Linked DNA regions of Homo sapiens: all the other regions are linked to region 1. Evidence: promoter capture Hi-C in 16 types of primary human blood cells and fetal thymus (Javierre and others, 2016). All regions are on one chromosome and are shown on one strand. Each heading gives the region's core, a stretch centred on a gene start or on the middle of the fragment in contact. The rest is flanking DNA. Distances are from core to core; before and after follow the strand shown. Region 1 holds the start of GAR1 (GAR1 ribonucleoprotein). Region 2 holds the start of CYP2U1 (cytochrome P450 family 2 subfamily U member 1). Region 3 overlaps HADH (hydroxyacyl-CoA dehydrogenase). Region 4 overlaps HADH (hydroxyacyl-CoA dehydrogenase). Region 5 overlaps RPL34-DT (RPL34 divergent transcript). Region 6 has its middle 11 kb from the start of RPL34. Region 7 has its middle 2.3 kb from the start of OSTC.

What was found. The method cuts DNA at HindIII sites, captures the fragments that hold promoters and counts their contacts. A CHiCAGO score of 5 or more calls a contact.
Region 2: a contact is called between the fragment with the promoter of CYP2U1 here and the fragment with the promoter of GAR1 in region 1, in 9 of 17 cell types (total B cells, non-activated CD4 T cells, naive CD8 T cells and 6 more). The highest score is 11.0, in total B cells.
Region 3: a fragment that was not itself captured here is called in contact with the fragment with the promoter of GAR1 in region 1 in 1 of 17 cell types (total CD8 T cells); the score reaches 5.8 in total CD8 T cells.
Region 4: a contact is called between a fragment that was not itself captured here and the fragment with the promoter of GAR1 in region 1, in 5 of 17 cell types (fetal thymus, total B cells, total CD8 T cells and 2 more). The highest score is 7.7, in fetal thymus.
Region 5: a fragment that was not itself captured here is called in contact with the fragment with the promoter of GAR1 in region 1 in 5 of 17 cell types (total CD8 T cells, naive B cells, naive CD4 T cells and 2 more); the score reaches 7.1 in total CD8 T cells.
Region 6: a fragment that was not itself captured here is called in contact with the fragment with the promoter of GAR1 in region 1 in 7 of 17 cell types (total B cells, monocytes, naive CD8 T cells and 4 more); the score reaches 11.7 in total B cells.
Region 7: a fragment that was not itself captured here is called in contact with the fragment with the promoter of GAR1 in region 1 in 10 of 17 cell types (total B cells, total CD8 T cells, naive CD4 T cells and 7 more); the score reaches 12.0 in total B cells.

What each region holds. Positions count from the first base shown.
Region 1 is chr4:109,814,179-109,817,729 of GRCh38, forward strand. GAR1 (GAR1 ribonucleoprotein) reads left to right here and starts at 1,584. Exons shown (of 7, transcript NM_018983.4): 1 at 1,584-1,626; 2 at 1,975-2,200. The coding sequence starts at 1,987. GAR1-DT (GAR1 divergent transcript) reads right to left here and starts at 1,204. Exons shown (of 2, transcript NR_186620.1): 1 at 653-1,204. RefSeq lists enhancers at 960-1,059, 1,230-1,629, 1,640-1,689, 2,040-2,089, 2,260-2,329. The HindIII fragment of the contact is 3,017 bases long and covers 669-3,551 here.
Region 2 is chr4:107,929,710-107,933,260 of GRCh38, forward strand. CYP2U1 (cytochrome P450 family 2 subfamily U member 1) reads left to right here and starts at 1,840. Exons shown (of 5, transcript NM_183075.3): 1 at 1,840-2,424. The coding sequence starts at 1,935. It overlaps CYP2U1-AS1 (CYP2U1 and SGMS2 antisense RNA 1), which reads right to left and starts at 2,410. Exons shown (of 7, transcript NR_125929.1): 1 at 2,262-2,410. All of the region lies in intron 1 of LOC107986298 (a long non-coding RNA gene), which reads right to left. It overlaps LOC124900751 (a long non-coding RNA gene), which reads right to left and starts at 1,876. Exons shown (of 2, transcript XR_007058221.1): 1 at 1,264-1,876; 2 at 1-194. RefSeq lists enhancers at 1,210-1,717, 2,378-2,447, 2,508-2,577 and a silencer at 1,578-2,167. The HindIII fragment of the contact is 6,450 bases long and covers 561-3,551 here.
Region 3 is chr4:107,992,466-107,996,016 of GRCh38, forward strand. The region is part of intron 1 of HADH (hydroxyacyl-CoA dehydrogenase); the gene reads left to right. Among named protein-coding and RNA genes, the nearest start is that of HADH, 4.4 kb to the left of the region's middle. The HindIII fragment of the contact is 362 bases long and covers 1,401-1,762 here.
Region 4 is chr4:108,017,212-108,020,762 of GRCh38, forward strand. It overlaps HADH (hydroxyacyl-CoA dehydrogenase), which reads left to right. Exons shown (of 8, transcript NM_005327.7): 4 at 2,329-2,455. Among named protein-coding and RNA genes, the nearest start is that of HADH, 29 kb to the left of the region's middle. The HindIII fragment of the contact is 222 bases long and covers 1,601-1,822 here.
Region 5 is chr4:108,610,695-108,614,245 of GRCh38, forward strand. The region is part of intron 1 of RPL34-DT (RPL34 divergent transcript); the gene reads right to left. Among named protein-coding and RNA genes, the nearest start is that of RPL34-DT, 8.0 kb to the right of the region's middle. RefSeq lists an enhancer at 58-1,615. The HindIII fragment of the contact is 918 bases long and covers 1,368-2,285 here.
Region 6 is chr4:108,630,131-108,633,681 of GRCh38, forward strand. It overlaps a transcript of RPL34 not described here. Among named protein-coding and RNA genes, the nearest start is that of RPL34, 11 kb to the left of the region's middle. The HindIII fragment of the contact is 238 bases long and covers 1,835-2,072 here.
Region 7 is chr4:108,646,551-108,650,101 of GRCh38, forward strand. No RefSeq gene overlaps it. Among named protein-coding and RNA genes, the nearest start is that of OSTC, 2.3 kb to the right of the region's middle. The HindIII fragment of the contact is 413 bases long and covers 1,592-2,004 here.

The DNA of each region.
Region 1 (3,551 bases), core at 334-2,833:
CAATTCAGAATTGAGCAAATACACAGCAAAAGATAAGCAAAGGTTTCATACTAAATAGGTAATTTTCATTTTTTGTTTCAAAAATAATACACTTATATAGGCCCATAAAAAGACCAACATTCGTTAAAATCAAATTGCAGCATTTACTAAACTAAAAGAAAAAGAACAAGTAAAGTTTCCTCTCTCACTTATTTTGTTTTTTGTTTGTTTTGAGACCAAGCCTTGCTCTGTCGTCCAGGCTGGAGTGCAGTGGCGTGATCTCGGCTCACGGCAACCTCCGCCTCCCGGGTTCAAGCGATTCTCCTGCCTCAGCCTCCCGAGTAGCTGCGATTACAGGCGTGTGCCACCATGCCCGGCTGATTTTTGTATTTTTAGTAGAGAAGGGGTTTCACCGTATTGGCCAGGCTGGTCTCGAACTCCTGATCTCAAGTGATCCATCTGCCTTGGCCTCCCAAAGTGCTGGGATTACAGGCGTGAGCCACCACGCCCCGCCTACAAAGGTATTTTAAAATCCCATTTACAATAACCCTCTGAATTAGATAGGTACCAAGTTCCACCCTCTTCTAAACACGAGATCAAATATCAAGGTAAGGTCTCAGAGGGTTTGGGTGTAAAAGACTCCAACCAAATTTAATAAATGGGAAGTCATTACCTTTATTTGTGAGAGAAGCTTTGGAGAATGTGGGGGAAGCTGATGTCAAATATAAAGGGCTTAAAGAGAGAAGAGGGAGAGGAGCTTTCAGCACAGTCCAGTTCACAGCCCGTCGGTGCTCAAAACATACTTGAATACCTGGTACAAAAGATAAAAATGATGGTTTGGTTTTCTATAAGACAGCATAGTTTCTTTAAAATTACACACACACATGCATTGCTTTTCTTCCTTTAATTAGTTGAGACCATAGGACAAAAGAAGAGGCATAGTTGAGCGCGTAATGGTGCGAAAATCAAAAGGTTGGGAAGAAACAAGAAACTCAGATAAACGCTTCCGTCGGCTGTGACAGGTTCTGAGGCGCCCAGATCTACTGGACATAGCGCGGCTCAGAAGCCTCAGAGACCTGTCCGCACAGTTCCTGAAGTTAGCAACAAATTAGTGAGTGCTGTTGCGGGCCATTTTGCAGCCAGAGAAGCAAATGCGCAAATGCGCCCAGCCAGTCAGCACGGACTTCAAGAACCAACTTCATTCCTTGCAAGGTGCTTTAGTTCTGGCCGTTAGGGCGGCAACCAAACAGAAACCTGCCCCGCCTCTGGGAGAGAAGGCGGATCCCTAACGCCAGCTATCTCCAAGAGCAACATTGCCGCAGCACTTCCGGGACGTCGTGCTGCAAAGGACGCCGCTGTTATACGTCACTTCCACGGCTCAGCGTCAGGCAAGTTGGCCTCTCTGTTGTAAATTAGTGGTTAAGGTTATCTATTATTGCCACTTTTCCAGCGCTAAAGGCTGTTTTGGAACCAGTGTTGCTTGTTCCGCGGGTGATTGGCTTTTTTTTTTGGCAAACCAGTTATTCAAGTTTCTGGTCTTTAAAAAACTCTGTGGCGGTACGGTAACCGAGGAGGTTCCAGCGCGGCGGAAGTACCCCGCGGGTGGGTGTGTGCGCAAGGCCAGGGCCAGAGGGGCACGTGGCGCCGGTGAGTGGCCGTAGAAGCCGGAGGATTTGAAAATGCTGGACGTGGAACCCAACTGCCGGAGGGAGGGAGGAAGGAAGGGGATGCGGTGCGAAGACCTTGCTGTCTGTAGGGGGAGGAGATACTAATCATGGGGCGGCAAGGGTGGTGTGTGGTCGGTCGGCGCTCACGAGACCATGGAGAAGTAAACTCTTCACCCATCAGGTTGGTGGTCACTGGCTGTCTGACCGTGGGTGAGGTGACAGGGCTGCTTTTGTCTCCTTTATGGTGTTCTCACCGCAGCTCCGAGGGGTTGGAGTATACTCAGAGGCTACAGTGATCAGAAGACATAGGTCGTTTTTTTTTCATCAGGGAGGAGAGAGAATGTCTTTTCGAGGCGGAGGTCGTGGAGGCTTTAATCGAGGTGGTGGAGGTGGCGGCTTCAACCGAGGTGGCAGCAGCAACCACTTCCGAGGTGGAGGCGGCGGTGGAGGCGGCGGCAATTTCAGAGGCGGCGGCAGGGGAGGATTTGGACGAGGGGGTGGCCGCGGAGGCTTTAACAAAGGCCAAGACCAAGGACCTCCAGAACGTGTAGTCTGTATGCAGTCTTCAGTATTTAGCTTATTTGAAGGAGTAGGTGTGGGTTGGGGGTTTGTGTTGTTAGGCAGCAAGTTTGGGATACACAAGCCTGTGTGGAGAATGTAGCATGTAAGGGTGGAGTGGGGAGATCAAGAAAGCTGAGGGATACTTAGAATGCATCTTGGAGGTGGAACTTGAGGGTTGACAGGAAGATATTAAATAGGTAATCGTGAGTACTTATGCCTAATTCCCCGATTTTACAGATGAGAAAACTATGATTTAGAGTTAAGTTTTTTTGCTGGGGTCATAAGGTTAGTGATAAGTGATCAATTAGTGATATAGCTGAAATACAGGCTGGGTGCGGTGGCTCACGCCTGTAATCCCAACACTTTGGGAAGCTAAGACGGGAGGATCTTTTGAAGCCGGGAGTTAGAGACCAGCCTGGATAATAAAGCAGGAGACCCTGTCTGTACAGAAAAGAAAGAAATACAAAGCCAAGTATTCTGACTCCAAAGCCCATGCTTTCTGTTACTACTCAAAAGTAGATAAGTGAGAAAACAATTTGCTTGAGAGGGAAACTGCCAGAGAGGAAATCTAGAAAAACACCTATTTAGGGTAGTTTTAGAGTAATTAACAATGAGATGGGAATGGAAGTCACAGAAAGTGAAACTTACTACATTAAAGAGGAGAGAGGGTGAGTAGTGTCTAACTAAGAATGGCTTGGATGAGTATGCAGGATGGTTTGAAAGGAGCAGTTTCTAGAATAAAAGGTCCCAGCCCACAAGCTGTTGTACCAGTCCATACATGAGACCTTGAGAGCCTGAATCAGGATGGTGACAGTGAGGAAAAAAAAGGAAGGGTTAGATAGGAGAGAGATTTCAAAGGAAACAAAATCGGTAGAACTTAGCTAATGCTGATAATAAAGGGTTCCAGGTTTTGAGCTTGGGTGATAGGAATGAAGACTTGGTTTTGCAGGAATGTGGTATTTTAGTTTGGGGTGACAGTCTAGTTAGAAATAAAGGTAGTTATTTTGAGATTCCAGATGTCCTTGAAAACAATGAATCATTGTTAAAGAGGTGGTAGTGGGAATGGAAAAGTTCTAAGGCAAGAGAAAAAAAAAAAGAATGAAGGCTGATTCTGTTAGGCATTGAAGAAAAGGGAGAACCAAGAGAATGAAGCAGAGTTTTGAATCAGATAATAAGTTGTAATAACATAACTGTTACAGGTTGAATGGTGTCAGTGTGCCAGGCACTGTTCTAAGCACTTGACATTTGTTATTCCATTGAGTGCTTACATTACTGTATATTAGGTATAGCTATACATTATATGTTATTAGTGCATACTAAAAATGAGACACTGAATTAGAGAGA
Region 2 (3,551 bases), core at 590-3,089, 1.9 Mb before region 1:
CTCCTCTTCAGACACCAGTCATATTGGTAAGAGCCCATCCACAGGACTCCATTTTAGCTTAATTACCTCTTTAAAGGCCCTTTCTCCAAATACAGTCTTATTCTGAGGCACTGGGGGTTAGGACTTCAACATATAGTGGTGAGGAGAGGCTGAATTCAGCCCAGATTTCCTATCTGCCCCGCACAGCTATTAACCTAGTGAAAATGAGAGATTTAGGAAAACACTACACGTGCAGTTACATCCTGTACAATATAAAAGGGTGGCTGTTGGAGTTGTTAAATTAGTCACAGCTTCAACTATTTTAAAATCATTTATGAATTTAAATTGCTTGTATGGGATGATGTATATAGTGGCTACTGTTTCAGAGAGCAAAGCCCTAGAATCAGATGACATCCAGAATGTCATGTTGAAGATCGTATCTGCAAACAAGTAGTTTAAATTTTTAAAAACTTCTCTTAATTCAAAAATTCAAAAAAAATGAGAAAAGTAATCTCACAAGTAGTGGTTAATTATAGAAGATGAGAGGTGTGGAGGTTTTTTTTTTTTGTTTGGGGTGCATAAGCTTAAAATAACATGAAAAGCATGTCAAAAAGAATATGAGAACAGAGTGGACTTGAAATTTAACATATCCTACTGGCATCACTTGTTTATAGAAAAATAAAATGGATCATGTATTTATTTGAGGACTCACTATGCTTTCTTTGATCACATTTTTATAGGTACAGCGTGGTGTTCAAACTTTTAATGTATGGAGAAAAATGAAACGGCTAGAAAAATGGCCCAGTACAGACAATTCTATGCTCAATCCAACTTGAACAGAAACTACAGGATTTGGCCTAAACAAGACTGAAAGGGAAGCCCTTATCAGGAAAGCCATTATCTGAGAAGATAAAATAAAGTAATACTTTGTTTTTAAAGTATTATACAATTCATATCTAATATTTCAACCTCAGCCTTTCAAGTGTTGTCTAACACCAATAATAATATTGCCACCCCTCCCTCAACCGGTTATCTTCTTTTCATATTTCTAGCTACTTAAATCCACCAAGCAAATTCTGGTTTCGCTATTTCTGGATTTAAGTACATTTTCTAATGCACCCAGGCCACACGCAGGAATGGACACAGCTTTCGCTCTCCGCATAAGTTTTCTAGCCCAGGGCAAGCTCTCAGAACGTGACTCCTCGTGCCTCGCTGCCCGCCCCTCGCTCCCCCCACTCCCGCCATCATCCCTTCCGCAGAGTTGGCTGCCAAGCCGACACCCACAGATTCTGCATTCCACGGCTTCCCAGCATCCTGCTGTCTCTGCGTGGAGGAAAGGGTGCTGCGAATCCCAGTTTAGATAAGGAACCCCGTCTTTTCACTACTACACCGAAGCATGCAGGAATAGGGCGTTGACCCCATTCTCCCAGCTCAGGGCACAGGTGCTAAGGCCGACCCATCTCACGGGCCTGTTCACCAGTTTCCCACACTCAGTACAGATCCTAACACGGTTTATGCACTTCATAACCATGCGTTTGTGTTTGTCAACTGACAAACGAGTGATAATGACAAACGAATGACACAAGGGAAACCAACAGCCAATCAGAGCGCAAGGTTGTGTTGCCAGCATCCCAGTTTCAGGGACAGTCACCGCCAAGCCCGACCCTGCAAAGGGTCGTAACCGGACTTCGGGGCAAACTTCAGGTCCCCCGCCTGCTAGCCCGCCAACCCCCTCCGCCAGGCAGCCGGCGCGCCTCCAGGTTCCGCCCAGGCGTCGCTGAGTGGCGGCGGCGGGGAGAATGCGCGCGGCGCAGCCAATCCGGGGGCGTTCCTACACCCCCTGCCCGCCCCCGACCTTCCAGAGCAGAGCAGGACACTGGCGCCGCGGGTCAGGCAGCTGCGTGCGCGTCTCCTCCAGGCAGCAAGGGGAACCCGAGGCCGCCGGCGCCCGGACCATGTCGTCTCCGGGGCCGTCGCAGCCGCCGGCCGAGGACCCGCCCTGGCCCGCGCGCCTCCTGCGTGCGCCTCTGGGGCTGCTGCGGCTGGACCCCAGCGGGGGCGCGCTGCTGCTATGCGGCCTCGTAGCGCTGCTGGGCTGGAGCTGGCTGCGGAGGCGCCGGGCGCGGGGCATCCCGCCCGGGCCCACGCCCTGGCCTCTGGTGGGCAACTTCGGTCACGTGCTGCTGCCTCCCTTCCTCCGGCGGCGGAGCTGGCTGAGCAGCAGGACCAGGGCCGCAGGGATTGATCCCTCGGTCATAGGCCCGCAGGTGCTCCTGGCTCACCTAGCCCGCGTGTACGGCAGCATCTTCAGCTTCTTTATCGGCCACTACCTGGTGGTGGTCCTCAGCGACTTCCACAGCGTGCGCGAGGCGCTGGTGCAGCAGGCCGAGGTCTTCAGCGACCGCCCGCGGGTGCCGCTCATCTCCATCGTGACCAAGGAGAAGGGTGAGCGGGAGGTCGTGGGCTGTGGGTACGCGGATGCCGCGGATGAGTCTCCAGGTGCGTGGGGGCTGCAGTTCCTGTGCCCCTTCCGGCCGCCCGCGCCCCCAGGCTGCCTCACACCTGCATCCTGAACTAACAGGTGATGGTGGTGGCGGCGCTTCTCCTTTCTGATGCCTTTAAGATCCCATCAAGTAGTGACGGACGCGTGACTTGCTCATACTCCAAGATCATAAGTAGAAAAGTCATCCGGAGATTGAGGGAGAGTAATAGGGATGGCGGAAGGACAAGGTGGCAAGCCAGGTTCCATCTTTCCAAAAGTAGCCTTCCCTTCCACCAGCTGTGACCTCGGAGAGAAACTTTGGCCCCCATGTTAGAAAGAGGGAAGGATATTCTTTTTACCTTGTGGGTTTCGAATGTAAGAATTTAAGAAGATAATTTCCAATAAGATAAAAAGTCCAGAAAACACAGAAGAAGCCTATTACCAAATCTCCGGCTTTGGTTCATAGCCTCTGATTCCTGCGTATGGGAGTCTAAATTGGACATTTTTGGGGGTTGGAAAACGTGTTATCTGCTGCAATAAAATGTCCAATCTAACCTGTCTCTACCGTCCCCCTTTGTCTTACTGGCTGGCTTAGGTCTCTGACTTCTTTTCTGAGTCACTCCTACGCATCAGTCAGGTGTTAAATGCCTTTTCCTTGGGGAAGCCTTTTCTCACAGCCTCTGCAAGTAGGGTAGCCTCCCTTGTTAGAACCAGGTCCCTTGCCCAAGCACTTTTCCTTCACTACACTTTTCAAAACTGACGCTACATAACTTTATGACCTTGGGCCTGGATGTCAGTCTTCACCACTGTTCTGACATCTAGGAGGACAGAGTCATTGCTGTCTGAAACATAGTAGGAGTTCAAGTATCTATTAAATGAATGCTATTTCCTGCCCCTATAACATGGCAAAGAAAGATCTAGGCTTTTCAGAATCTGATAAAGCCAGAGTTTTGCATCAGGATTTTAAACGGAAAAGACAAATATTGTATGATCCACTTATATGAGGTGCCTCCTAGCGTAGTGAAATTCATAGGGACAGAAAGTCTCAGTTTTGCAAGATGAAAAAAGTTCTATGGATGGATGGTAGCAA
Region 3 (3,551 bases), core at 332-2,831, 1.8 Mb before region 1:
TGCTCCTTGACCAACAGCTTTTGGCATAGGGTAAATCTGTTTTGCTTATTGAGTGCCAGAGACGAATTAGTTGATGTGTTTTGAGTACAGATGGGCTACAGTTCAATATAAGAAGTTGGATGGTCTGCATGCTAGCTCTGCCTCATGCAGTATTAACATGGGACTTTACCTCTGTGTCTCGGTTTTCTCATCTCTAAAGTAGACTAATGCTAGTACTGGCCTCGTAGGGAGAGAATTGAATAAATTCAATGAATTCATGCATATGTCAAGCAGTTACATATATCAAGCATATGTCAAGCACTTACACAGTGTCTGGCATGTAATAAGAGTTCACAGAAAGTTAGCTGCCTTTATAATAATTATCTTCGGCCCGGCATGGTGGCTCAAGCCTGTAATCCCAGCACTTTGGGAGGCTGAGGGGGGCAGATCATCTGAGGTCAGGAGTTCAAGACCAGCCTGGCCAATATGGTGAAACCCTGTCTCTACTAAAAATACAAAAAAATTAGCCAGCATGGTGGCATGTGCCTGTGGTCCCACCTACTTGGAAGGCTGTGGCAGAATAGTCTCTTGAACCTGAGAGGTGGAGGTTGCAGTGAGCCGAGATCGCACCACTGCACTGTAGCCTGGGCAACAGAGCGAGACTCCGTCTCAAAAAGATAAATAAAAAGAATAATCATCATCTTCATTGCAGTTGTCCTGTCCTTTTGCCCTTTTCCCCTCATATCCACTCCCATCCTGATCACAGCTGCTGAGGTAGGCCTGTAAGGTTTAGATGGAGAATATTGGTCATGATTCCCTGTTTCATCTTGCTTAATCTTGAATGCATATACCCGCTGATGCTGCAGCGGGTATGTTTTTTCAGGGACCTCTGAAAGGAGGGAGAACACTTTTTAGTTACCCCCCATTTTATTGTTAAACTTTAGTAAAGCCATAAAAGTACAATCACAAACTAGTATTGAGGTTATGTTACTGATTTTCATTAGCTTAATTTTCTTGAACTTTCTGACGTGGTTTTAATGTTAGTCAAGGTGCAGTTCTGCTTATAATTTTAATAGTTTTGTCATTTTAAACACGTCAGTTTGTGCTCAGAAGGATGAAAAAATATTTAAATAGATTTTGTGGGAGCCTGATGCATTTCTCAAGCAATTAAGCAATTTAAGACAAGTTCAGTGCTTAATTACATTTGATCAGAGCACAGGCCATTTGTACATGTGTATTTTCCGAGAGTATCTACTTTGCCTGTCATTTCTTTTGTTTGTTTTAAATTAAAAAAACAAAAAATCCCTTAGACTGCAGGTTAATATTTGAAGTTAACTTGTTTCATGTGTTTGCTTATTACACACTTCTGACTTGGTTTTGATTGCTAATTTATCTTCACTGGATACTTAGGCCAATAAAGAAGCTTATAGGATTAAATGAGCCTTGAGTGGGGGACAGGTTGTTTTTTTGCTTTATAAAGAGGAAAACAAGAAAGGAAGAAAGCTGGTAGCTGTGTGCATTTCTCCAGTATTGAATCCTTTCTAGGCTTTGCTTCATACATTGGGTTTTTTCATATGAGGAGCCCAGAGAGAATGCATAGCTTTCATTAGATTACTTGTGAGGAGCCAGTGGGCTCCCTGGGAACGGGGCACTTCAGATGTCCCCCTTGAGACACTTTACATGCTCTCCGGGTGCAACCTTCTTTTTAGTGCACTACTCTTCTTTGAGGAAGTGAGAAAGTTTGCATCTTAAAGGGGGTTGGGGATAGGTTCTTCTCTCCCAAAGCTTGCTTTTTTTTTTTCCTCCTTTTTAAAAAGCAGAAAGTGCATATTTTTTCTAGAGAGAGCTTCTTTGGCTATTAAAAACAAAGTAAGGGCAGGGAGAGCCTGCTACGTTGCAGGGATTTTGTGTGACTCTACCATGCTTGATAAGGATTCAGGTAGACCTGAAAGCTTCTCCCCAGCCACTGGATTTGTTCTCTCATCTCTTCTTCTTGCCCCCAAATCTGCATTTTCTGATGCTGAAAAAGAGAATGATCAGAGTTGTTTCATATTTTTTTAGCTTTATTCTCTTCTACTGTGAGTACAGCTCTGTTGAGCTGTACAGTACAGTACTGCTTTGCTTGCAAAGCAGTACAGATGCCTAGGAGAAGTTTCAGGATCACAGGAGACCAGCAGTTACCTGGCTGTAAGCTCTCCTTTTGACTGTTCCTTATGGAGGGAATATTTGTACTCCCAGTTGTTACCTTCCTGCTGAAGGACATGAGATGTGTCTGTTTGTTATGAAGTTTTCCCCCTACTTCCCGAGTTGTTGCTTATCTTTGTTGGGCTGTTCTCTGCTCTTGGTTGAGGTACTGGGATGTAGAACCACCCTCTATTAGCATATTAGTTATTGGACTCTGGGTGAGGTTGGAGATACTGTCATTCCTAGAGGGTAGAAGAGGTAGGGCTCACAGGCAACAGAAAATAATGCTATGGGATATGTTTGGACATTTTTTAGAGCAGAAATGGCACTTCAGTCAGTCAGGTTTTGGCATTTTCCTGCCATGTTCTGCCTCCAGCTTTAATCACTTGCCCCTTGCTTGAGTTTCTTCTTTCTTCCCCTCTCCCTTCTCTCTTATCTGTGGTAGGCACACACACCTCACTCTCTAGTTCTCCTGGGACCACAGGAAGATAATGTGGATGTTCTCTGTGGCTCCCCCTGTTATATTCATGATGTTATTATTTCTGGTAGTGGTATTCTAATCTCAAAAGTACAGGCTATGAGGTCCCTGCCAGGGTTTAGATGCTAGCCTTCCTATCCTGCCTTTAGGAACCTTGGGCAAATCACTTAACTCCTCTCTGCCTCTTTACTTACCTGGGAATAATGAGACTCACCTGACAGCTGTGAAAGTTAAATGAACTAATATACAAGCTCCTAGAATAGCATTAGTGTGTTTGATAGTAACTGTCTGATAAATATTAGCTGCTTTCACATAGACCCATCAGACCTGATCTAGTGAGGATTTCTCTTAGATTGTCTTCACTGTCGGAAGAGTTTTGATATAGGGAGTTCCAGCAATTCTAAAGATGTTAAGACTTATTTATGTGGGTTGTTGAGAAAGATAGTGTACCATTTACTGGTTTTTGTAGAGCTAAAACCACTCTACAAAATATGACACTTTATTCTGTTCAAAGAATTTTGATTTATTTAATTTCATGTGACCATTACAATAATCACCCCTGCAGAGATGGTTCCTGGGGTCAATGGTCAGAGGCAGAGCTGGGGTTAGAACTTGAGTTCTCTTCTGTTCTGCTGCCTGTAAATCCCCAAGCCTGAATTCAGTTCTGCCTGCACCTCTGGCAAGTGCTGTATTGTGGGGAGAAGTGTGGCATCCATGGCAGGGGATCCTCTGTGGCTCTCTGGAATCAGTACATCCCAGGTTGACGTCTCCTTGGCTCTGGACTCAAAGTTAGTCTACCTGCTGGTCGTCTACATCAGGGTGCTGTGCTGCCATCCTTCTGCCCATGGTAGACTCAAACTCACCTGCCAAGATCTAATTCATTATTTCCCCTCCAGCTTTTTCCAGAGAG
Region 4 (3,551 bases), core at 462-2,961, 1.8 Mb before region 1:
GAAGCCCTGATGAAACAGTTGCATCCTGGAGAGAACATGACTTCTCTAGCAGCAGCCTAAGACACACAAATGAAAAGTATGACCAGACGCACAGGCAGCCAGATCGAAGTCCTGACTTTCCCCTTTAGACAAAGTACAGACTCTTGAATCCTTTGCCATCCCCACCAACCCTCTTGTCTTCTTTATACTAGGGTCTGGGGCCATTGCTAATAATCACTGTGCTTGTGTTGTCGATTTTCTTTTAGAACATTTAAGAGAAAAGTAGTTTTTTTGGTACCTGAGTGTCCGAATGAAAAAAACAAAAGATGGTTCAAGACAAGTGTTTCCAGGAACATGTAAGAGTACTTTTTTTTTTTTTTTGAGACGGAGTCTCGCTCTGTCGCCCAGGCTGGAGTGCAGTGGCATGATCTTAAGCTCACTGAAACCTCTGCCCCCCAGGTTCAAGCAATTCTCCTGCCTCAGCCTCCCTAGTGGCTGGGATTACAGGCATGCGCTACCATGCCCAGCTAATTTTTGTATTTTTAGTAGAGACGGGGCATGTTGGCCAGGCTCGTCTCGAACTCCTGACTTCAAGTGATCCACCTGCCTCGGCCTCCTAAAGTGCTGGTATTACAAGTGTGAGCCACCGTGCCCAGCCCAGAGTACATTTTGTTTGTGGATGAAAAGACTGTCCTATGTGTTTAGTATTCTCTGAAGACAGTGTGAGACTTTTAGGAACAAAGTCAGCCTGACCCTGTTGGGAGAGGCAGAAGCAGAGGTCTGCTGGGGAGAGATCATTTCCTCCTTCTGATAAAATGTGCCAGAGTGCCCTGGACTGGTGATACCTGGAACTGGGCTCTGATGTCACTTTATTTTACCAAATGTGCCCAAGTTTCCCCTTTTTGCAGGTGAATGGCCCTTCAAACATTCTACAAAAAGGGGTATTACGATTGTAATACTAATCTTTAAAATAACACTTTCTTTTCTTAACGGGAGTGTGGAGCCACAGCTGGCACAGCCTTGGGCCCAGGCTGTCCCTGCTCTGTTTTTGTGGTTCCAGGTGCTTGTGGTGCAGGTTGTGTGGTTGAACAGTGCTTGTGTTGGCCACACACATTGTTATTGGAAGAGGATCTTTTTTTCATTACCTTCTGTAATGGGGAATAGTTTATATTATTTTCCCCAATGACCAAAAGCAAGAAACTTTGAAAACTGAAATTTTAAGACCTTAAAACAATGTCATTTTTTTTTTAAAAAGGAAACCCTGGCATTTAAATGGCCTACCTTGGAAGCTGTTGGAGAAGGTGGATGTGCTCATACCTGGAAAGAGAAGGCTCTCCGCTGCCTACCCACACTGGTCTCGCCTTTTACCTCTTTTCCCTCCTTTCCAAATAACTGGTTTCTTCTCCCTTCTCTTCCTCCTCTCCTCCCACCCGCCCCTGATTTGAGCAGATTATAGTATTGCCTGTTAGGTAAGCAGAAACCCCCAAGCCTGGTCAGTAAGGGATCCTTTCCTTTCCTGCCCTGTTACAGTCCATCTTGGTTGGAATCAGCACCAGGCCTGTTTGTATGTTTTTATCCGCAAGGTGGCGCTGCAGGAAAGCCTGGAAGTCAACCTGTTTAAAGCTTTTCCTCTCATGCTTTTGGCACGCCACTTTACTGTGGCCTTAAAGAACTAAATTTGGTTTAAGTCAGTATGGATTTTTTTTAATGAATAAGTTAATGTCTTATATATGCATATGCCTATATCCTCTTTTCCCCATATCTACCCATGTAACCTTAAAATTTTTTTGAACCATGTTGGTGTTCTTGTTTTCATTTTAATTCCCATTCAATTGAAAAATAAAGCTTTTCACTTCAGGGAAAATATCTTAATTCACGTTTATTATCATATGTTTCTGATTGAGGATTTATGTGTTCATTTAGAATTTTGTTGCTTTTAGGTGTCTTTCTTTCATTATTTTTTGATCACTGAGTTTCGTTTGTGACTGGGGTTGGTTAAGTAGCTTGATCAATTAGCCACCTCTTGTTATCTCACATACCTTGGAAGTTAACTAATACAAGTAGGTAGGGGAAATTTTGTTCTGGAAAATCAAGGAAGGATTGGTGAAGGTTAAATACCTCTTCGGAACAGGAAATTCCAATTTTATTTCAAATTTAAAAATTTTTAAAAAGCTGAAGTCACTTGATTTCAGCCTCTTATATGAAGATGTGTCTTCTCCCTCATTCCCCCAATGGGTCAGGACAACAGATGTGGCAGTAAGCAGTCACCTTGTGCATTGCATCCAAGAGTCATGCTGTTTTGAAAGAAGAGATTCACTCTGATACTCCCACTATATTTTCTCTTCACAGACATACAATCTTTGCCAGCAACACTTCCTCCTTGCAGATTACAAGCATAGCTAATGCCACCACCAGACAAGACCGATTCGCTGGCCTCCATTTCTTCAACCCAGTGCCTGTCATGAAACTTGTGGAGGTCAGTGGGTGTCAGCTTGTGTGTGTCTGCCCGCTCTGCCAGCTCTCTCAGTCCTGCTTTTCTGTGTTACACCAGCCCTGCCACCAGTTGCCTAGGATGGGTTTTAACCTGAGGGTAGAAGGTTGTCCCTGAGCCTCATATCTAGGAGGGCTTCTATGCTTTGTTTCTTCACAGCCCTGTGTCTTGCTTAGTGATATCCAGAAAGGCTGTTAACTTTGTGGAATGTCATTTACTTATTTGTGCCAGAGCTGATGGGCAGTGCTGAGAGGCATCAGAATGGGAAGGCAGCACTAGAAACCGTGGGCTGGATGGGACCACACAGAGGGCAGCTACATGTGTTCATATTATCTCGTCGAGGTCAGCTTGCCCATGCTGTAAATGCAGTTCTCATTAGATACACTATACTAGCTTGTCCACAGTTCCTGGGGTTAATTCTGACCCCATGTAATGGTGCCTTAGCGTTGTCCCCAGATGAGGTACATCTCCTGTGCATTGTGATCAGAGCTATTAAAACCAGCTCCCATTGGGTGCGGCGGCTCATGCCTGTAATCCTAGAACTTTTGGAGGTGGAAGTTAGTGGATTGCTTGAGACCCAGGGGTTCAAGAACAGCCTAGGCAACATGGCAAGACCCCATTTCTACAAAAAATAAAAAATCAGCCAGGGGTTTTGGTGCACGCATGTAGTCTCCAGTACTTGGAAGGCTGAAGTGGGAGGATTGATTGAGCCTGGGAGGTTGAGGCTGCAGTGAGCTGTGATTGCACCACTGCACTCCAGCCTGGATGACAGAGCAAGATCCTATATCGAATAAAAAAACCCTAAAAGTAAAAAAATAAAACCAGCTTCTGATAGCCTTGAGCCTCCTGACCATAAACCTGGAAGGTGGAGCGGGGAGGCAGGGAGGGCTTCCCCAGCATCCTGTTTGGAATGCTTGGAGACTCCAATATGTTGGAGTTGGAGTCACAGTAGGCAATTTGCACCTGAAATGGGACAACTTGCCTTTTACAGGGTCCTAATTACAGGGTCTGAGGAGCAGCCGCTATTAAAGTAGCATTTGTTCTGAGGTTGAGGAGTTATTGCCCTGCGAAGTGTGGGGGA
Region 5 (3,551 bases), core at 577-3,076, 1.2 Mb before region 1:
CGGAAAGGGAGAAGACAGAAATGACACAGGGCTTTTAGCCTGGATGGCGATGGCATATTTCTGCCTCACTCATTTTCCTAATAGGTTAATCCTCTTCCCTTATTCATTAAAGTCATTGTTTTCTGTTAATACATTTTTTCTACTTGGTTCTTCTATTCATTAGCAAGCACTGCTTCTTTCTGACTGTGCTCATAGGTCATAAAGCAAATGAGAAATTTTCTTGAGCCTCGTTCTTAAGGGATGCAGATTGCAACTACTGCTGTGCTATACGCTGGAGGAAAGAAATCACATAAAGCGATTAGAAAGGAGAAAAAAAATAAGTGAAACTACCTTCTCATGTACTTCAGGGTTTTCCTCCCTTCTGAGTTTAATATGAATCAAACAGGTGTGCATTCAAAGCATGCAAGTGTGTCTTCATTGGCTTTTAATCATCAGCTTGAAGAAAATTCAGATCTCTCAGAAAGAGAGAAAAGTAAACAGCTGAGCACTGTGACTCATTTACACTTCAAATATACTTTGAATTGGTTATTCCTCAATTAATCAAATAGCTGGTGTATCCCTAAAGTAGTATAAAGTGACGCACTGTGTGAAATCAATTTTTCTTTCCAAAATCATTAAATCCAGTAGCCTGTGACTACATCCCTGCTAATTCTGGTACCAGTCCTTTCCTCCTCCATTAACTTTGGCACGCCTAACAGCCTGTCAAGAATAATTTCCCAGGACGTAAATAATTCAGAAATTAAAAATTAATAAATAATAACAGAGAACTACTGGGAAATAGGCTGGGTCAATTAGTGCGCTCTGCATTCTGTTTCTTCACAGCAGGGGGAGGCAGCCACATTCGTTACTTGAATCTTCCTTTCGATTCTGCAGTCTGATTTACAGCTCTTCATTACTGGATCCAGTCAGACGCAATTACCTCCATCACTATCTCAGTTCCTAACTTCAAAGAAACGAACGTTTTCTTGTCTGCTTTTTTTCTCCTTGAAGCAGGCTCAGCTTGACATCCCTGGAATTTCTACCACGCAGACTAATTAATAAGTCTTCGACTTATCATATTCACTTCTCTTCTTTGATGTGCTACCTTAGTCAATCATCCCATTTAATTAGAATTTCAATGATAACTTTACTTATCTTGTGGCTAGATGTAAATTAAAATAATGGGATTTTAATTCTCTTTCGTATGGGGTTATGACATTTTGGAAGAAAAAGTTTCAACACAAACATGATATTATGTACTTTTTACTTTTCATGTGGGGGTGGGGGAGCATTTTGCAAAATTATTTTCTTCTTGCTACAAAAGAGTATTGCTGTTGAGCAAGCAATAATGAAAATGCACTGGATTTTTCTATAGCATCTTTTCACCAAGCTTTCATAGGAAAACAATTGTCTTCATTTGCATAAATAATTGGAACAAGACACAGGACGTGGAACAAGACACAAAGGCAGTGGCTACGTTTTGGGAAAAAAAAAAAAAAAAGGATCTCCAGAAAGTCAAGGAGTTGACACACTAACCCTTTTAACTCTTTTGCCCTTTTCTGTCAATCCATGCTATGTTTCCATTTTGATAAATTCTATAGTGGTTTTTCTAGAGTTCCCCAAAATAACACAAGGAAATAAAAATGTTCTCCTAAGAACACACCAAACATTAGTAAGGTATAAGGTGTAACAGTGATGTGCAAAACTGGTTATAAGGAAGAGCAGAAGGCAGCATTTCATTTCTAGAAAACAATACTAAGACCATTTATCTATTGAGCAGCCATGGTGTGCCAGCCTCAGCTACGTGCTTTATCTCCGTTAATTCCCGCAGCACACCCACAATATGGGATTCCCACTTCCATGTTACAGATAAAGAGACAGTCTCAGTGAGGTTAACTTGCTTTCTGAAGTTCACAAAGGTAGCACGTGAGGAGAAAGAAATCAAAAGACAAGGCACGAGAGAAACAATTTAAGCCTTTAAGCATAGCATTTAAAACTTTCCATCGTCTGGCTTCAAACTGCTTGCTAAACTCACTCTCTTCCTACTTTACTACATTAACTCATCCAGAATAAAACTCCAGGCATGAGTTTAGTATCTACTGTATTATACCTTATTAATAATATATGCCTTATTAATACATTTTTGATGGTTGCTTTAATGCTTATAGACATTGGCAGAAATTCAGTCATTGTGGATGTAAATAGGGGGCATGTTTGTATATAAAACACCATGGTGACCTCAATCATTATAAATACATTGTTTTTAAATAGCAAGTACAAACAGAAAATCATATACTATATATACAAGCTTAAAAGAAGAAAATAAGCTTTGCTCAGATTTTCTTATTTTTTCCCAGGAATAAAATTATTAGCTGTTTCATTGGTTGCTTTTAAAAAAGTTACTAACAATAGGAACATCAATGGGAATTGCACATAATTATTCTGCCCTTAATCTCAATCATTCCCTTCCTCCACCCTCAGTAACAATGTCCAGTAAGACAAGAAGCAGAGGTTACAATGACCAATAGAAATTTATTTCATTAGTAAGATGTGAAACCACTGTATTTATACCATTTTGAATCTAACCTTTCGGGGATTTAGTACAGTTGTTCTTTAACAATAGAACTTCGCTCATTTGCTACTTAAGACATGATTATTTAAATTAAAGTTAATTGGTTTCCTTACTCCCCTTTAGGGCTTTAGGCTCAGAACATTTCTATTAGAAAAATCTAATTTGTTTCAAACTCCTATTTCTAAAATTTACAGTGGTTATTTAGAGTGGCTCTGATATTTTAACTCTTTGTAGCAAAACTTGTACAATGTGTTTGTGTTTTAAGCTAAGTGTTATTACCAAAAAGTCAAAAAGTTAAATTTTTTTTAAACTTTATAAAGTAAAAAAGTAACAGTAAGCTTATTAAGGTTAGTCTATTATTGAAGAAAAAACTTTTTATAAATTTAGTGTATATAAAACATATATATAGTGTGTATATAGAGTATATATATTTATCTTTTTATATATAAATATATATATAGTGTATACAAAGTGTATAGTGTTTATAAAGTCTACCATAGTGTATAGTAATGTCCTAGGCCTTCCCATTCACTCACCACTCACTCACTGACTCACCCAGAGCAACTTCCAGTCCTGCAAGCTCCCTTTATAGTCAGTGCCCTATACAGGTGTACCATTATCTTTTATATCATATTTTTCTTCTACCTTTTCTATGTTTAGATATGTTTAGATACACAAATACTTACCATTGTGTTACAATTGCCTACACTATTCACTGCAGTAACATACTGTACAGGTTTGTAGACTAGAAGCAGAAGGCTATACTATAAAGCCTAGGTGTGCAGTAGACTCTACCATCTAGGTTTGTGTAAGTACACTCTATGATGTTCACACAAAGACGAAATCACCTAACATATTTCTCAGAATGTATCTGTCATTAAGCAACATATGACTATAATTGGGCCATTCACAAATAATCACGAGATTAATAAAAGGCATTGATTCATGGTGCAATATAGGCTATGAGGCCCAATAATGGAAAAACGTGTAAAAGTTCTAC
Region 6 (3,551 bases), core at 704-3,203, 1.2 Mb before region 1:
AGATTGTTATGGTGAGAGTATTTACACCTCAGCAAATGCTGCAAAATCCTGTTTTCCCCCAGAGAGCTGGAGGTTAAATACTACCAGCACATCCCTAGATACTACTCAAGTTACAGTATATGATCACTAATATAGTATGCTCTTGGTACCAGGAGCTCTGATATATATCTGGTACATGTTTGATAATGACTTGATTGTTATTATAAGTACTTATTAATACTTCGATTCTGTAAAGAGTTTAGGGTTTGATTTTATAAAATCCAAAATGAGCCTTTTATTGAATCCAGTTCTCTATGTGACCAGTTCTCTGTATGAATGGAAGGGAAAAGAATTAAAAATCTTGCAAAGGGGAAAGTTCCATCTTCTTAAAAACTAGATGTGGTAAACAACTATTCTAAACCAGGAGTAGAAAAGCTAACACTATCTGGCTGGACACGGTGGCTCACACCTGTAATCCCAGCACTTTGGGAGGCCAAGGTGGGTGGATCATGAGGTCAGGAGATGGAGACCATCCTAGCTAACACAGTGAAACCCCGTCTCTACTAAAAATACAAAAAATTAGCCGGGCATGGTGGCAGGCGCCTGTAGTCACAGCTACCCGGAGGCTGAGGCAGAAGAATGGCGTGAACCTGGGAGGTGGAGCTTGCAGTGAGCCGAGATTGCGCCACTGCACTCCAGCCTGGGCTACAGAGCGAGACTCCGTCTCAAAAAAAAAAAAGAAAAGAAGTTAACATTGTCTTTATGAATCTCATTTCTATCTCAGCTAGTTCATGCTACTGTAACTACCACGGACTGAGTGGCTTGAACAACATTTATTTCTCACTGTTCTGGAAGCTAAGTCCAAGATCAAGGCACTGGCAGATTCCATGTCTCTTCCTGTTTGCAGATGGCCATCTCCTTGCTGTATCCACATGTGGTGGAGAGATCACCTGTCTCATGTCTTTTCTTAGAAGGGCACTTATCTCGTCATCAGGGCTCCATCCTCAAAATCTAATAATATATACCTCCCCAAAGCCTCACCATCCCATTGGAAGTTAGTACTCCAACATATAAATTTTGAGGGGGATGCAAACATTCAGTCCCTAACATTTTCTAAATTAAAGGATAAGATCCGCAATAATTCTGGATGAAAAGATGCTTTTGGGTTTCCAAAATATTAGCTATTCAATAATTTTTAATAAATCTTAAATGTTTCTGGTTAACCTGAAGGATTATGTAAGTATTTTTGCCAAACATTTACATTCTTTTATAATTGCTTTAGCTTTCATTCATTTACTCGATAAATATTTATTAGAAACTACCATGTACCAGAAACTATGATGCTGGATAATTGTTAATACAGTAGTCAACAAAGCAGATGAGACTCTTCCCTTGGCCTCATGGCACACAGGAGAGACAATGTTAAATGGGGAACATATAAATACATTTGTTGTTGTACACACTGGGATTAGACTCACAAAAAGAAAGTCCACAGTGCTGTGAAACGATGTGGAAAGGGAACCTCATGGGGGAGTTAAGGGAGGCTTTTTCTGAGAAAGTGATGTTTAAGCCCACAACAAAGATAAGTAGGTGTTGTCTGGGTGACAAAAAGGGAGAATACTCTGGACATAGAAACCAACATGTGCAAATGCCGTAAGTCAAGAAATCGTTTTTATGAAAAACAAAATCAATTCAGGCAATCCAATTCACTCTCAATATTTAAAGGCCAATAAACCTGAAAAGTGTGAACTAATTGTTAATCACTAAGAAGGAACATCCCTGTCAGCACATAGATTTACTATACCTGTGTGGCCCCAGGGCTACTTTTCATCCTAAGGGACACCAGCAAAAGAAAAGCTTTCCTAAACTGTTTTAGTTAGGAGCAAATAAATCCTCCTCTACATTAGGGGATATTTAAATTATGCAATCCCCTAGATAATTTAGGCACCAACCACCTACCATTAAGGAGGAAAAGGATCAAATTTACTGACCAAATTCCCTTGATATTCATTCAGCTTCTATATTCCTTGGCCTGTGCAAATAGCCTGAAGACTTTACTCTCTCAACTCTCTCTCATTCTAGGGTTGAAAATAAGCTTACAGCTTGACTTGCCTAAAGAACAAATGGTCTTGAAGAAAATTCACGTGTTTATTGCATCTTAGTGTAAGTCATAAAAGATGTCACAGGCCATAGGGTCTCTCTTTCACAACTACTCAATTCTGCCATTGTAGAGTGTCAGTAGCCATAGACGATACATAAACAAATGGTCATGGCTATGTTCCAATAAAATTTTATTTACAAAAACTGATGTCAGGTCAGATTTGGTCTCTTAGCTCATAGTTTGGGACCCTGCTCTAGACAACTCTGCTTCTAGCCAAAGCTGCCATCTGATTGCAATTGCATGAGAGACCTTAAGCAAGACCAGTAGAAAACTGCCTTGTTAAGTCTAATCAGCCCAATGGATGGTGGGAAAAAATAAAATGGCTGCTTTTTAAATTCCATTCAATTTTGAGGTGATTTGTTACATAGCAATATACCACTAAGACAATGGTACAGTGCAATGATCTTTAAATATTTCTTTTTACTTGAGTACCCCTTAACATTTTGGAAAGTTATGTAGACTCTGGCACATTTTCAGATTGTCATCTAAAACTTTTCATTCAAAATGTAAATCCTTGCAAAGGATATCATTTCCAACAGAGTGAACATTTTAATAATTTTAAAGAGAACTGTTTTATCAATTTTTAAGCATATCAAAATCTCCATAGCCATTTTTTTGAGTTTTTGTATATGTATTTATTTATTTATTTTTAACTTTTAAGTTCAGTGGTATATGTGCAGATTTGTTATATAGGTAAACTTATGTCATGGGAGTTTGTTGTATAGATTATTTTATCACGCAGGTATTAAGCCTAGTACCCATTAGTTATTTTTCCTGGTCCTCTCCCTCCTCCCACCCTCTACCCTGCAATAGGCCCCAGTGTGTGTTTCCCTCTATGTGTCCATGTGTCCTCATCATTTAGCTCCCACTTTATAAGTGAGAACATGCAGAATTTGGTTTTCCGTTCCTGCATTAGTTTGCTAAGGATAATGGCCTCCAGCTCCATCCATGTTCCTGCAAAGGACATGATATTGTTCTTTTTTATGGTATAGTAGCCATTTTCAAAAAGACAGGAACAAGCTTTTCTAACATTTGGAAGTTTTATATTCGTTCTTTTTTCTTCCATTTTGTTTTGTTTTTTTAGAGACAGGGTCTTGCTCTATTGACTGGGCTGGAGTTTAATGGTACCATCCTGGCTCACTGCAACATCAAACTTTTGGGGTCAAGCAATCCTCTGCCTCAGCCTTCCAAGCAGCTGGGACTACAGGCATGTACCACCACACGTGGCTAATTTGTAAAATGGTTTTTGTTTTAAAAAAGAAAAAAAAGATGGAGTCTTGCTACGTTGCTTAGGCTGGTCTCAAACTCCTGGCCTCAAAGCGATTCTCCTGCCTCGGCCTCCCAAAGCAATGGAATTATAGATGTGAGCCACTGTGTCACCCCTTTTTCTTTTTGACATATATTACCATTC
Region 7 (3,551 bases), core at 548-3,047, 1.2 Mb before region 1:
AGACATTTCCCTGAGGAGACCCTGACATTTTATTGTGCTTATTTTTCCATCCTCTGGCATGCATTTGTCCTAACAATATATCTACTGTAGTTGCTACTTAGATCACTGTCTAATGAGCATATTATCAATGCAATGTCATAGTGTGATATTCTGTGAATGAGAAGGCAATCAAAGTTCCTGCAAATCAGATTATGACATAGAGCTGGGGAATTGATATAATTCTGAAATGGAGGTGTGTTGCTGACTCTGCCAGTTGAAAGCAAACTTCTTCTGATGATCTTTACCATAGGCATAAGTAGAAACAGCATTTGCCAGAACAGCTAACAGGTGCCACGAGATGTGTTGATGTGCTCCAGCGACAAAACCACAAGTGGAATAGCAGCAGCAGTTGGAGTCACCACATGATTAAATTTACAATAATCCACTGTTGTTCTCCAAGGTCCATCTTTCTTTTGCAAGGGCCAAGTTAATTGAGCGAAATGTGGCAGAAATCACTACTCAGCATCTTTCAAGTCTTTGATAGCACATCAGCCACTGAAGTCACTTTAGATTTATTATTTCTGTAGGTAAAAGCAGTTCTACTGGTTACACTTAGACTTTCCTGCCATAAAAGCCCTCATAATATGGGTCAGGAAACCAATATGGTGATTTTTCCATTTGCTGAGTACATTTATCCCAATTGTACATTCTAGAACTCAGTGATCTCACTACCTCTGGAAGGAGAACTAAAATTAGAATAGTGATAATGGGAAACTCGTTCCATATGTGTCTCTAATATTTGAATAAATTAATTATTTTACATTGGGCAGGTTCCTATGTTTTACTTGCATAATTTTATTTCTTATTTTCATTATTTATTTGTTTATTCATTTATTTTTAGAGATGGAGTTTCTCTCTTGTTGCCCAGGCTGGAGTGCAATGGCACGATCTCGGCTCACTGCAACGTCCGCCACTCGGGTTCAAGCCATTCTCCTGCCTCAGCCTTGCAAGTAGCTGGGATTAGAGGCATACACCACCATGCCCAGCTAATTTTGTATTTTTTAGTAAAGATGGGGTTTCATCATGTTAGTCAGGCTGGGTTCGAACTGCTGACCTCAGGTGAGGAGGCCTCCCAAAGTGCTGGGATTACAGGCATGAGCCACCGTGCCCAGCCATTACTTGCATATAATTTTAAAAACAACCTTCAAAATGTAAAATAACTACAACAATAACACCAAACCCCACAATATTGCATTAGAAAGAGTTTTTATTTAGATCATGAGACATAATAGTGCTTCGTACTCATGCTTATACAGAACCTAGCGCGAAAGAACATAATTCAAGACACTGTCAACCAAACTGCAAAATGTCTTCATAAATAAAAATCCAGGTTAATATTAGTATTATTATCCTACAAAAAACAAAGCTACTAATTTCCTCTCCAACACATATTTAAATAAACAGAAATCAACAATATTTGTAGCCTTTGTAATTCTAGTTTGTTTAGAATTTAGTTAAAAACTTATTTGTGGAGCTCTCCCTCTCTTTTGGCTGGCAGAACCATTTCTGACTTCAAGGCTTTTTATTAAAATATTCTACAATGAACACAGAAAGCTTGGTAGATACCATCTTTACACTTTTTTCTTCTTTGAATATATATTTGCTTGTGCACAGTAAGAATTATTAACATTTGCTTTTATATGTAGCTTAAGATGACAGCTCTACTGCATATTATATTGTAAACTGTGTTTCTCTCAACATTTTTCCTTCTTCATCTATAAATAGAAAACCACTGAATGATTGATTATATGTTTATTTAAGGGCATGCTCTAATGCCCACTGCTATATTCATTATTTCTTTGGTTTTCAGTTACAGAGTTTATGTTATGTTTAAATAGAACATTTTTCTGTAGGAATTGTGGGTTAGGACATGGATGATAACAGATATGCATATCTTACTCATGAAAGGTCTCTTTTATACGTGGCTTATAGAATATTACAAACTCATGTTGAAAAATATTTCAAAGCTTAAGAGGTTAAAAAATAATAATGAATTGGTTCCTGGAGCAAACTTACTTTTTGGAAAGTGATAGTAATAATTTAACATATAGATGAATGCAGTGTGTTCTGACTTGGCAGTTTTATTATTTATGAAATTAATTTTTCATTTAAAAATTATATATTAATAATTTATATGTTTTCCACAATGTAGGTAGAAATTATGTGTCCCTAGTATACACAGGAAGAAGGATAAGTATATAAACGTATACCATTTTAAACGTCTTAAATCTATTTACTTCTACAGCAATTGCCTTTTAGGTCTCATCCAGTCACAGACTATACTACACTTTTTGAGTTTATTTCCCTTCCCAGGAGCCACTTTTGTCATATGTAAAGCAGTTATACTAGTATTTACCTAACAGAATTGTCATGAAGAGTATATAAGCACAAATGTAAATCACTTAACATAGTACCTGCCAAGCAGTGGTTAATTAATGTTAGATTCCTTTTTAAGCTATAAAGGAAATTTAAAAACCTTTAATCCCTATGTTTTTCCAAAGCAAAATGTTTTATTTTTATTTTTTTCTTCATACCAAAGCAAAATATTTTAATTGTTCCAAAGTGTTCCTTACTTATAAAACTGTGGGAATTTCAGAAACATTCTGCTTTACAGTGCCCAGAGAAACTTCCTACATATAAACGCTGGTTTTGGTGTAAATGCATTCATTATTGGTGTTATCATTGGCCTTTACATAACCTAAGATTCGTGTGGCTCCGTTAAGACATAGGCAATATGACTCTGGGAGAGACTCTCACTAATGAACAGTAAGGGCAGCAAGCCTCAACTGTACTTAGAATTGGATACTACAATGTTTTGATAGTATTTTCATTACCGTCTTCAAGCAATTTCTTAACAATTGAGTTGTTAGCTAATTAGAAGTGCAGAACCAATACATGGCATCCTGTAAAAATAACCACGGGCTTAGTAACAAGCAAATAAAAAAATATAAAAACATTGGCTCTATAATGTGTCAATATGCTCTGGACTTATGTAATCAGTGACTCTTAACTCTTGCTCCAAAAGGAAGTTAACATTTGTAGAGTCTTAAAAGATTATATAAAAAAGAAAAGCAAAACAGAAAACAAAAAATCTTTTAGACCTTCTAGTCCATCCCTAATGACTAATTCTCCATCATATATTTTCATCTATTTGGATTGTAAATGTTGCCCAGACCAGAGATGGCGGTGGTTCACACTAGGGTGTCAGTGGTGGAATGGTGAGGGGCAGATGAATTGGAGATATTTTGGTAGTACAGCCAAAGAGACCTACTAATATTTTGGATGCAGAAGGTTAGTAAGGAGAGAAATCCAGACGACTTTAAGATTTTTGGCCAGAGGGATTTTACCTTTTAGCGACATACAGATGACCAAGGGAAGAGCAAAGTTGAGAGGATGAGTTATTCAAAATAGTATTATGGTCACGCCAAGCTATCAGCATTAAGGCATCCCTGTAGAGATGTCCTGTTGACATTTGTGATCCAGGCTGGATGTTTAAAAAAAATTGGTAACAT